Regions from separate parts of the Homo sapiens genome. Here region 2 is linked to region 1. The links are contacts of gene promoters, found by promoter capture Hi-C in blood cells and fetal thymus (Javierre and others, 2016). All regions are on one chromosome and are shown on one strand. The core of a region is centred on a gene start or on the middle of the fragment in contact, and the rest is flanking DNA. Distances in the headings are between cores, read along the strand shown. Region 1 overlaps ANO10 (anoctamin 10). Region 2 holds the start of TOPAZ1 (testis and ovary specific TOPAZ 1).

Evidence for each region. The method cuts DNA at HindIII sites, captures the fragments that hold promoters and counts their contacts. A CHiCAGO score of 5 or more calls a contact.
Region 2: a contact is called between the fragment with the promoter of TOPAZ1 here and a fragment that was not itself captured in region 1, in 4 of 17 cell types (naive B cells, total B cells, activated CD4 T cells and 1 more). The highest score is 7.5, in naive B cells.

The regions. Positions count from the first base shown.
Region 1 is chr3:43,521,325-43,525,754 of GRCh38, reverse strand. The region is part of intron 11 of ANO10 (anoctamin 10); the gene reads left to right. Among named protein-coding and RNA genes, the nearest start is that of ANO10, 98 kb to the left of the region's middle. The HindIII fragment of the contact is 2,813 bases long and covers 44-2,856 here.
Region 2 is chr3:44,239,483-44,243,770 of GRCh38, reverse strand. It overlaps TOPAZ1 (testis and ovary specific TOPAZ 1), which reads right to left and starts at 1,885. Exons shown (of 20, transcript NM_001145030.2): 1 at 1,372-1,885; 2 at 1-918. The coding sequence starts at 1,717. The HindIII fragment of the contact is 1,559 bases long and covers 737-2,295 here.

The DNA.
Region 1 (4,430 bases), core at 201-2,700:
TCTTTGAAAATGCATCAGCTCCCTTCACCACCACTTGCAAGCTTATTTTAGGAACTTAGAAAGAGGAAAGAAGAGAGACAAAACATCTTTCCCTGCCTAATAACTCTATCCCATTTACATTACTTCTTCCCACTAATTATGGTGAAAGTACTTTGTGGTGATGAGAAGGGAAGTTCACTGGCCTCTGACCATGGGGTTAACTGTGCCTCGTGGGGGTGCTCACTTAGCAGATACTTGGGTGCTCACACCTTGTGCTAAGGCTGAGCAGAAGCAGGAATGGTTGTTGGCACTGGAGCTTTATCTAGCATGAACACAAAGCACCAGATAGTCATGCAGATAGATGTAAAAGGATTGAGTTTAGAGTAGGGGAACATGACCTTGTCCGGAGTCTGAAAGGTGTTTTTAAGGAGAAGTATCCAGTAAAATGGAGCCTGAAGTGAGAGATGGGGATGAGGGACTGTGGAGGGAATGCTTTGGGCAGAGAGGATAGCCTGCCCAGGGACCATGGAGTCCCAGAGCTATGAAGATGCAGGAAAGAATGTGAGGTGAGGCTAGAGAGGACACAGAGGCCAGATGACCTGGCTGCACAGGCCACATTGAGGATACCTTTTTCTCACTTAAGAGCCCTGGGCAGTCATTGGTCGGTGGGGGGTAAGAGTATGGCTGTGGTGATGACCTCAACACATTTGCAGTTTGTAAAACCAAAACAACCCTTGTCTTGCTCAACTTGGAGGATGGTTCTCACTCATACCCAGCATGGAGAATGTTTAAGAGGGGTTGGAAGAGTCAGTGAGTTAGGTGGTAACTGCAGTGGTTCTAGGGAAGGATCCTGGTAGATTGGAACAGGACAGGCAGTGACTCTTCTGGAGAGGCATGTACTGGAAGCAGTATTCAGAGTTCTTGGTGCTGTGTTGGATACACTGTGTGTTAGGGGAGAGGAAATATCATGAGTGACTGTAGGTTTCTGGCTTGGGTACTGGAGGAGGGCCAGTTATTGAGATAAAGGATGCTGGAAGAGATCTGTGTTTTGGCAGAAGAGCCCAGATGTGTTCATTGTCCCGCTGAGTCTAAGGTACCTGTGAAACAGGCAAGAGGAGCCCAGTGGGCAGTTGGGTGGACTAGAAACCCAGTTCAGTGAATCATCTGCATCAGTAAATCCATGTTCCCTTTCCTTCCCCCTTTCTCACCTGCCCCAACTGTGCAACACATAATCATTGCACAGGGTACTTGGGGAGGGAAGGAAGCATCTTGAGGAAACCTTCCTGGTCTCTAGGGCCAGGCCAGATTACTGCTGTGGGGTGGACTGTAAATGCAGGAACTGTTGCAGGCATGCTGCAATTACCACTTATAGACAGCTCTCAGGATCTACATGGGAAAGGTAGGGTAGGGGGAGTTAAAAGGAATTGAGTTGGAAACTTGACAAAACTGTTGCCTAAAATTTTCTTTGAATATTTCCCCCAACCAAGCACAATGCTTGTTTGAAGCAAATGACTCAGTTATTCTAGAAAGTCATTCCTTCTATGAGGGATTCGTTTCCTGGTTTTCTTCCTACCTCTTTGGCTATTCCTCCTTAAGCCTGTTCCTGAGCTTCTTCCTGGGCTATTCTTTCTTAAGGTTCCTTCCCAATCCTCTTCTTCTTCATTCAATCATTGGTTAAACTCATCTGCTCATCTCCGTGGCTTCCACTGTAGCCCCTGTGCTCATCTACTCCAGGTGTAGCCCCTAGGTGAGCTTATCTACCCCATGGCTTCCACTGTGGCCCCTGGGTGAGCTTGTTTACCCCATGACTTCCACCTCCACTGTAGCCCCTGGATGAGCTCATCTACTCCATGGCTTACACTCTAGTCTCTGGATGAGCTCATCTACTCCACAGCTTCCACTGTAGTCCCTGGATGAGCTCATCTACCCCATGACTTCCTCTGTAGCCCCTGGGTGAGCTTGTCTACTCCATGGCTTGCGTTACCTTTACGCCTAACAGTGCCCATTGGACATCTACATGTGTATTGTGTATGTATTTACCTTCGTTGCTTTCACTTGAATGTCTCCCAGTGATCTCAAATTGAGCAGTCCAAAGCTGAGTTCATCTACCACCATCCATCTAGTCATAACCAGAACTTGGGGTTAGTCATCCTCACTCCTCACACTCAAACAGCTACTGTCCAGGTGGTTGTTTCATCTAACCCATTTCTTCTCCACTCAGTGCCTTGTGTGTAGCCTTAGGGTAAGCCCTCATTATTCCTTTTCTGAGTTGCTACAGCATAGCATGTTCTTAACTGGCATCCAGGCTCCCCAGTCTTGGTGCTCTCTAATCCATTCTGCTGCTAAAATGATTATTCTGAAACAGAAATCTGATCTTACTCCTTCCTTAAAAGCCTTTACTGCCTCTCTACCATTTTCAGGATTAAAGCCCAGATTTTAGTGTAGTTTTCGAGGCCCTTCATGAAATCATGCAGCTCTTTCCGCTGCTCTCCTCTCTCCACTTTAATAATACTCAGCTCATGTGACTCCTCCAATGGAATGAGCTCTTGCTTACTTGGTATTGTAGGCTGTGCTGTTTCCTCTGCTGAGAACCCCCTTTTCAGGCATACTTAGCTTAAGTTGACAGGTTTGAATATTGGTTTGCCTGAAAGACTGGTGTAATATACATGAGTCATCCTGTTTTATCACTGAACACATAAACCTCTTTCCTGTGTCCAGAGAATCTCTGACCTCATGGCAGATGCCCCCTCCCACTATAGAAGCTGATAATGCAGGTACTCCCTTTCCAGCCTCCCTTGCTTCTGGGGTATGGACGTGGGCACATGATCTATATTGAGCCAGTAATAATTTTTTACCCTAAACTTTGAACTGTAAGCTTTTGGACCCCAAGAGGCAGGTACCATGCAGAATCCACTCAGCTGACAGTAGCTGTGGCAGTGCTATGCCAATGGTGTTGTGCCTGTGTGCAGCCTGGCATCATTGCTGAACCAGCTCTAGATATGACTTTGGACATTGCTCCTCACTGTATGACTGCTCAGCCTGGTTCTTTAGACCTTTTAGAGGGTACGTGAACTACCTGATAACCTTTTAACCAACCTCTTCTTTGCCCAGATACACCAGAATTGGTATTTGTGGCTTGCAAGTAAAAACCCTGCTTGATTCAGTTACATTTCCAGCATCAATACTTTCAAAGACAGAGAGCAGAACACAGTTGTCTATATTAAACTGCAGTGAAATGACAGATCCCTAATGCATAAAGTTGTATGAAGCTCTTGGTTTGTAGGTAAATGAATAGTCACAAGACTTAGGAGGATCTTGTGCTATATATGCAATGACATGATGAAAGTCACAGGGTTTTCCTAGAAAAGAACACCAGAATATTGCTATGATCATAAAGAATGGTGAAAGTGTAGATGCAGAAATAGCTGTAGAGCTTTTTTTTAATGTATTTTTTTATCATGGTAAAATATAATAACATAATTTGCAATTTTAATTATATTGAGTGTGTAATTTAGTCACATTAATTATAGTCACAGCATTGTGCAGTCATCACCACTATCAATTTCCAAAACTTTTTCATTACCCCAAACAGAAATTCTGTACGCAGCAGGCAATGACTCTCCATTTCCCCCTTCCCCTAGTCCCTGGCAACTTCTGCTTTACTTTCTGTCTCTGTGATGTTGCCTGTTCTAGACATTTCATGTAAAGAAAATAATACATTTATTTGTCCCTTTGTGTCTGGCTTATTTCACTTAGCATTATGTTTTTAAGTCTTACCCATGTTATAGTATGTATCAGAACCTCATTCCTTTTTATGGCTAAATAATATGTCATTGTATGCATATACTGAATTCATTCTTCTGTTGATGGACTCTTGGGTTATTTCCACCTTTTGGCTATTTTAGTACAAATGTAAATAATACTGCAGTGAATATTGGCATACAAATATCTGAGTCCCTGCTTTCAATTCTTGTGAGTATATACCCAGGAGTAGAATCACTGGGTCATATGATAATTCTGTGTTTAATTTTTTGAGAAACTTCCAAACTGTTTTCCGTAGCAGCTGTGCCATTTTGCTTTCCCATCAGCAACGTACGAGGGTTTCAGTTTCTCCATATTCTCGTCAACACTTCATTTTCCATTTTCTAAATTATAGCTAACCTAGTGGATGTGAAGTAGTACCTCCTTGTGGTTTTGATTTGCATTTCCCCAGTGATTACTGATGTTGAGCATCTTTTCATATGTCTGGAGCATCTCAACTATATCATTTGTCTCAAGAGCATCTTGATCAGTTAAGTAAAGTTCCATTTCTGTGATTATCATTTTTCCTAGAAGTAAGAGATTGGGGTTCTCTACTATTTATCATTTTATGGCCAGACTCAGCTCTCAAACATAAGGCTTCCCTGTAAATACCATTAAAGGCTTGACAGCAGCATTTTAAAATTTATGCC
Region 2 (4,288 bases), core at 636-3,135, 720 kb before region 1:
GTTCAATGGTTTTCTGAAACACAGCATTTACATGATGTTCAGAACTTGTTTCTTTTTCTACTGTTTCTGGGACACTTAATAAATGATCCATCAAAGAGACTGTATTATGGCTTACTTTTCTCAAAACATTTAAAGGACTTTTAGTCTCTGCTTCTTTACCATCAGCAATCATTTGATTTTCTTGCAACATCAACTCAGACTTGTTATACTCATTAGAGAAGTTCATCTCAGTAACTGTTTCATCTGCTTTTTCAGACAACTTCATCCTTTTCCTGGGTTTTCGCCCAACACTGCTCTCCTCTATTGAATATTTATTTTTTTCATGTTGAAGGCAGGAAAGCAAGCCATTGGTTTTACTTTGGTATAAATCACTCTCTTCTGGTAGTAACTTATTTACTCCCATTACATTTTCTTCTGTTTGTAAGAGCTGAGGAATACTATTTGTGTCACTCTTCTCTGCAAGACTCCTAAGGTTTTCTTTCTTTGAGAAATTTTCTGCTACATGCATACATCCACCATCAGGTTTATATGGCAGGTTGTTTTCATCATTACAACCCTTGGAATGGGGGAAACAATTGCAATCACGTAATTTTAAAACGGAATTATTTTCTACTTCAGGTGACAAGATATTACAAGAATATTTTGGAGTATTCTTGTACAGTTCATCTTGGAATTCAACCTTAATATTTTGTGTAGCCTCATTTTCGGTTATTTTGAGAGGTGGGTTTTCTAAGCTTTTAAGTTTTTTATTTCGAATTCTTCTTTTAATACCTTCTATTATACTTTCCTTACCCAAAGACTGCAAGCATTCCACTGTTTGGAAAGATTCCGAACTGGTTAATGATTCCTTTCTTACCAAGTCAAGCCCTGGCTGTGGATCATCACTTGAGGCTTCAGTAACTTTTCTTTTTTCCTTGGCTGATCAAAACAACAAAATATATCAGAAAAGATTTTATATTGAGGAGGAAAATGCAATTATCATTGAAATTAAAAATTGTGAGGCTATCATTTTTATTTCCCTGAACAGCTGTATGTAAATACACATTTGTTTTTAAATGAAAGCCTTAATTTCTGTTAAGGAATTACATATAAACCTGTATAAATTCTAAGGCAACTGAATAACCCTTATAACATCGTCATCTCATACTAGCCAAAATGGACCACAAGTAGGAATTCCTCCTATCATAATTCTGACCAAGGATTCCTAACAGGGAACACCCCTTTTAAGGAAATCCATTTTTCCCATCTCCTGGTCAACTATGTGCATCAGAAATAACCATGCAGGTTCAAGTTAAAGACTAGTGGTAAAACAAAGATGGAGCACGCTGAGGTACAAGGGCTAAAGGTAAGTGATCGTGGATGCTTTCTTACTGTGTCTTTCCGTTTGCAAGGGGAGTTCAGCCTCCTTTGCTGCTTCTAGGCCTCGCGGGTCTGACGAGTCTGACGGGCTCACCGGGCCCCTGCGCCCCTCCACCTGACGCCTTGCGGCCTTTCCAGCCCCTGATGCTGCAACCGACTTATCACTTTCCACCTCGCCTCTCCCAGGGGTGGCCCGGGCCACCATTCTCCTCTTTTGCTTATTTTCCCGGCACCCCCCGGCCTCAGGGCCACAGCCTCCCGCCGCGCCTGGCCCTGGCGCCTGCCGCTTCTGCAGGTTTCGCACATTGCCTTCAGGCCCTGAGGCCGTCGTGGGGCCCAGGGGTGGAGGTCGTCGCATGTGCCCCGGGGCCGGCCCGCTGGGGCCCCTCTGCACCAGCTCGCAGGAACCCACCGCGGTGCAAACGCTGCTCCCGCCTGGAGGTACCTACTGCCCTCTGACCCACCCCACACCGCCAGTCACCACAGCCCGGGGCCGGAAGCGGAAGTGGGGCGCGTAAGCGGAAGTGGGGCCTCGTGTCTGGGGCCCCGACTGGTGCTTCGGGATCCAACGGGCAGGAGAGCCGCGAGTTCCGTGCCAGCGTCTTTTTGGAGGGCCTCTCGCGGAGCTCCGAGGGAGGCAGTGGCCGCGCCCGATTGCATTGCGAGGGACTGTAGTGGGGCTCATCACATAACAGGCCTCCGTTGGCCCTTCCACTAGGCTGAGCTTCCTGGAACCGTTCAGGGCTCATTCTCCCAGCTGCTGCTCTTCGCGCCTTGGCTGCTCGCAAAGGCCACTGTCAGTGGCTTGTAACTCCACACCAAGTCTCCTAGAAGCCCCTGTCTAACTGTCTTCCTGATATATTCACCCGGATATTCCATATTCCACAGGCACCTCACACTCAGATGGGCAAACCAGCTCATCGCTCCTCACAAGCTTGCTCCTTTCACATAGGTGGATGCGCCACCATGCGCCTAATTGTTTAAGCCAGAAACCTAGAAACCATCAGAGACAACCTTCTTTCTACTTCATCCCTCACATCCACTTTCACTAGATCTACTTGACTGTATTTTGTTTGTCAGCCACTCTCCCGTTTGCCATTACCGTGGCTCTGGCCCTCAGACTTTCTTGACTGACCTACTGCATCAAGCCTCTGAATCCATCCTTGAGCTATTCCAGTCAAACGTCCACCTCCTTGCCAGGCCATGCCTCTCCGATGACAGGAGATCCTAGCACTTCTCAGTTTGACCCTTCATGAACTTCTTTTGCTCAAAGACTAAAACTAACAGAAATCCAAACTCTGGTGTGGTATCTGTGACCCTATCTGATGTGGCCTCTGAAAAATTAACTAGTTTTCTCTTACTGCCACTGTAGGGTAAAAGTTGTGCTTTGATGGAAAACTACATAGAAGTCACCCTTCTGAATTATCTGATTCTGATTCTATGGGAGTTATTTTACAACTCTGTAAATTATAGATAAGCGATAGCAACACAAAATAACGGTCTATAGAAATCCAAATTCTGTCCAATAGAAGTTTAATTGACTTCCCATTTTCACTGTGGAAGAAGCTAGTTTTGCCTCCATTTCCACATTCACTTCATTCCTGGTCTAGAATGTTTGTTGTTTGGACTTACCCTTTGAACCAATGTTTATAAAATCTGCCTGATGGGAGAATATAATCTTTAATACATGTTCATCCATGACAGCCATTATTTTCTCTTTTTTGAAAATTATCTCTTATCACCACACATAGCCTGCCCATAAGCCACGTTGGACTACTACCTGAAGTTCCCCAGATTTCATATACTTTTGTTATGCTTGTGCTTCTGTACCTGACAGTCCTGGAAAGTCTTCCTTTGCTTGTCTGCCTGGTAAACTACATATTTCCCCTTCAAGATTCATGCAAGGATCACCCATCAAGGAAGCCTTCCTGCAACTGTTCTTGCACTTTGAGGGGTAAAGTGTTCCTTCCTGTCTGCGAACACACAGTTCAACTATTTACTTGTGTGTCTCCCTTAGTAGCTTCCTTCCAACCAAGTGCAGATACCTTCCATTAATCTTTGCTTTCTGTGTGTTTAAAGAAGGACCTGGTGAATTTGAATACAATGCATTAAAGAATGGTAGGTATGATGCATAGAGTGTGACTAATATGGCAGTTTGGATGAGAAGCTCAGGTCAAGTATTCTGAGGAGCTTTTATAAAATAGAACTTAAGTAAAAGAGGTGTAAAAGATACAGAAATTATCCTTGTTTCTTTCTCTTTGTAAGTACCCTTAGTAAAAGGAAAATCAGTTTAAGACTAGCAGAATTTATAAAAAGTTATCATAAGCACTTCAGGCTCATTCCACATTCACTTTATGCCTCACTTTATATATCACTTTCCTCATCTGTAAAATGAAATAGTGTGTCCTCAGAGTTCTCATGAGAATTAGATGTGCCAATATTTGTAAAGCAGTTAGAATAATGCCTAGTTGATTATAAACATTAAATAGATTTGTTAAGTAAAAACTTCAACACACACACACACACACACACACACACACACACACACACACACTCTCTCTCTCTGAGTCAGAGTCTCACTCTGTCACCCAGGCAGGAGTGCAGTGGTGTGAACACAGCTCACTGCAGCCTTGATCTCCTGGGCCCAAGTGATGCTCCCACCGTAGCCTCAGGAGTAGCTGGGACTACAGGTGTGCATCACCACACCCAGCTCATTTTTTTTTTAATAGAGATAGAGTCTCCCTATGTTGCCCAAGCAGGCCTTGAACTCCTGGCCTACAGTGATTCTCCCACCTCAGCCTTCCAAAGTGCAGGGATTATAGGTGTGAGCCACCAGACCTGGCCTCAATATATATTAAAAGGTAGACTCTATAGAATTCTGACATTTACTACCTTCAAAATAAACATTGCTACTAGGATGTTAGTAAAA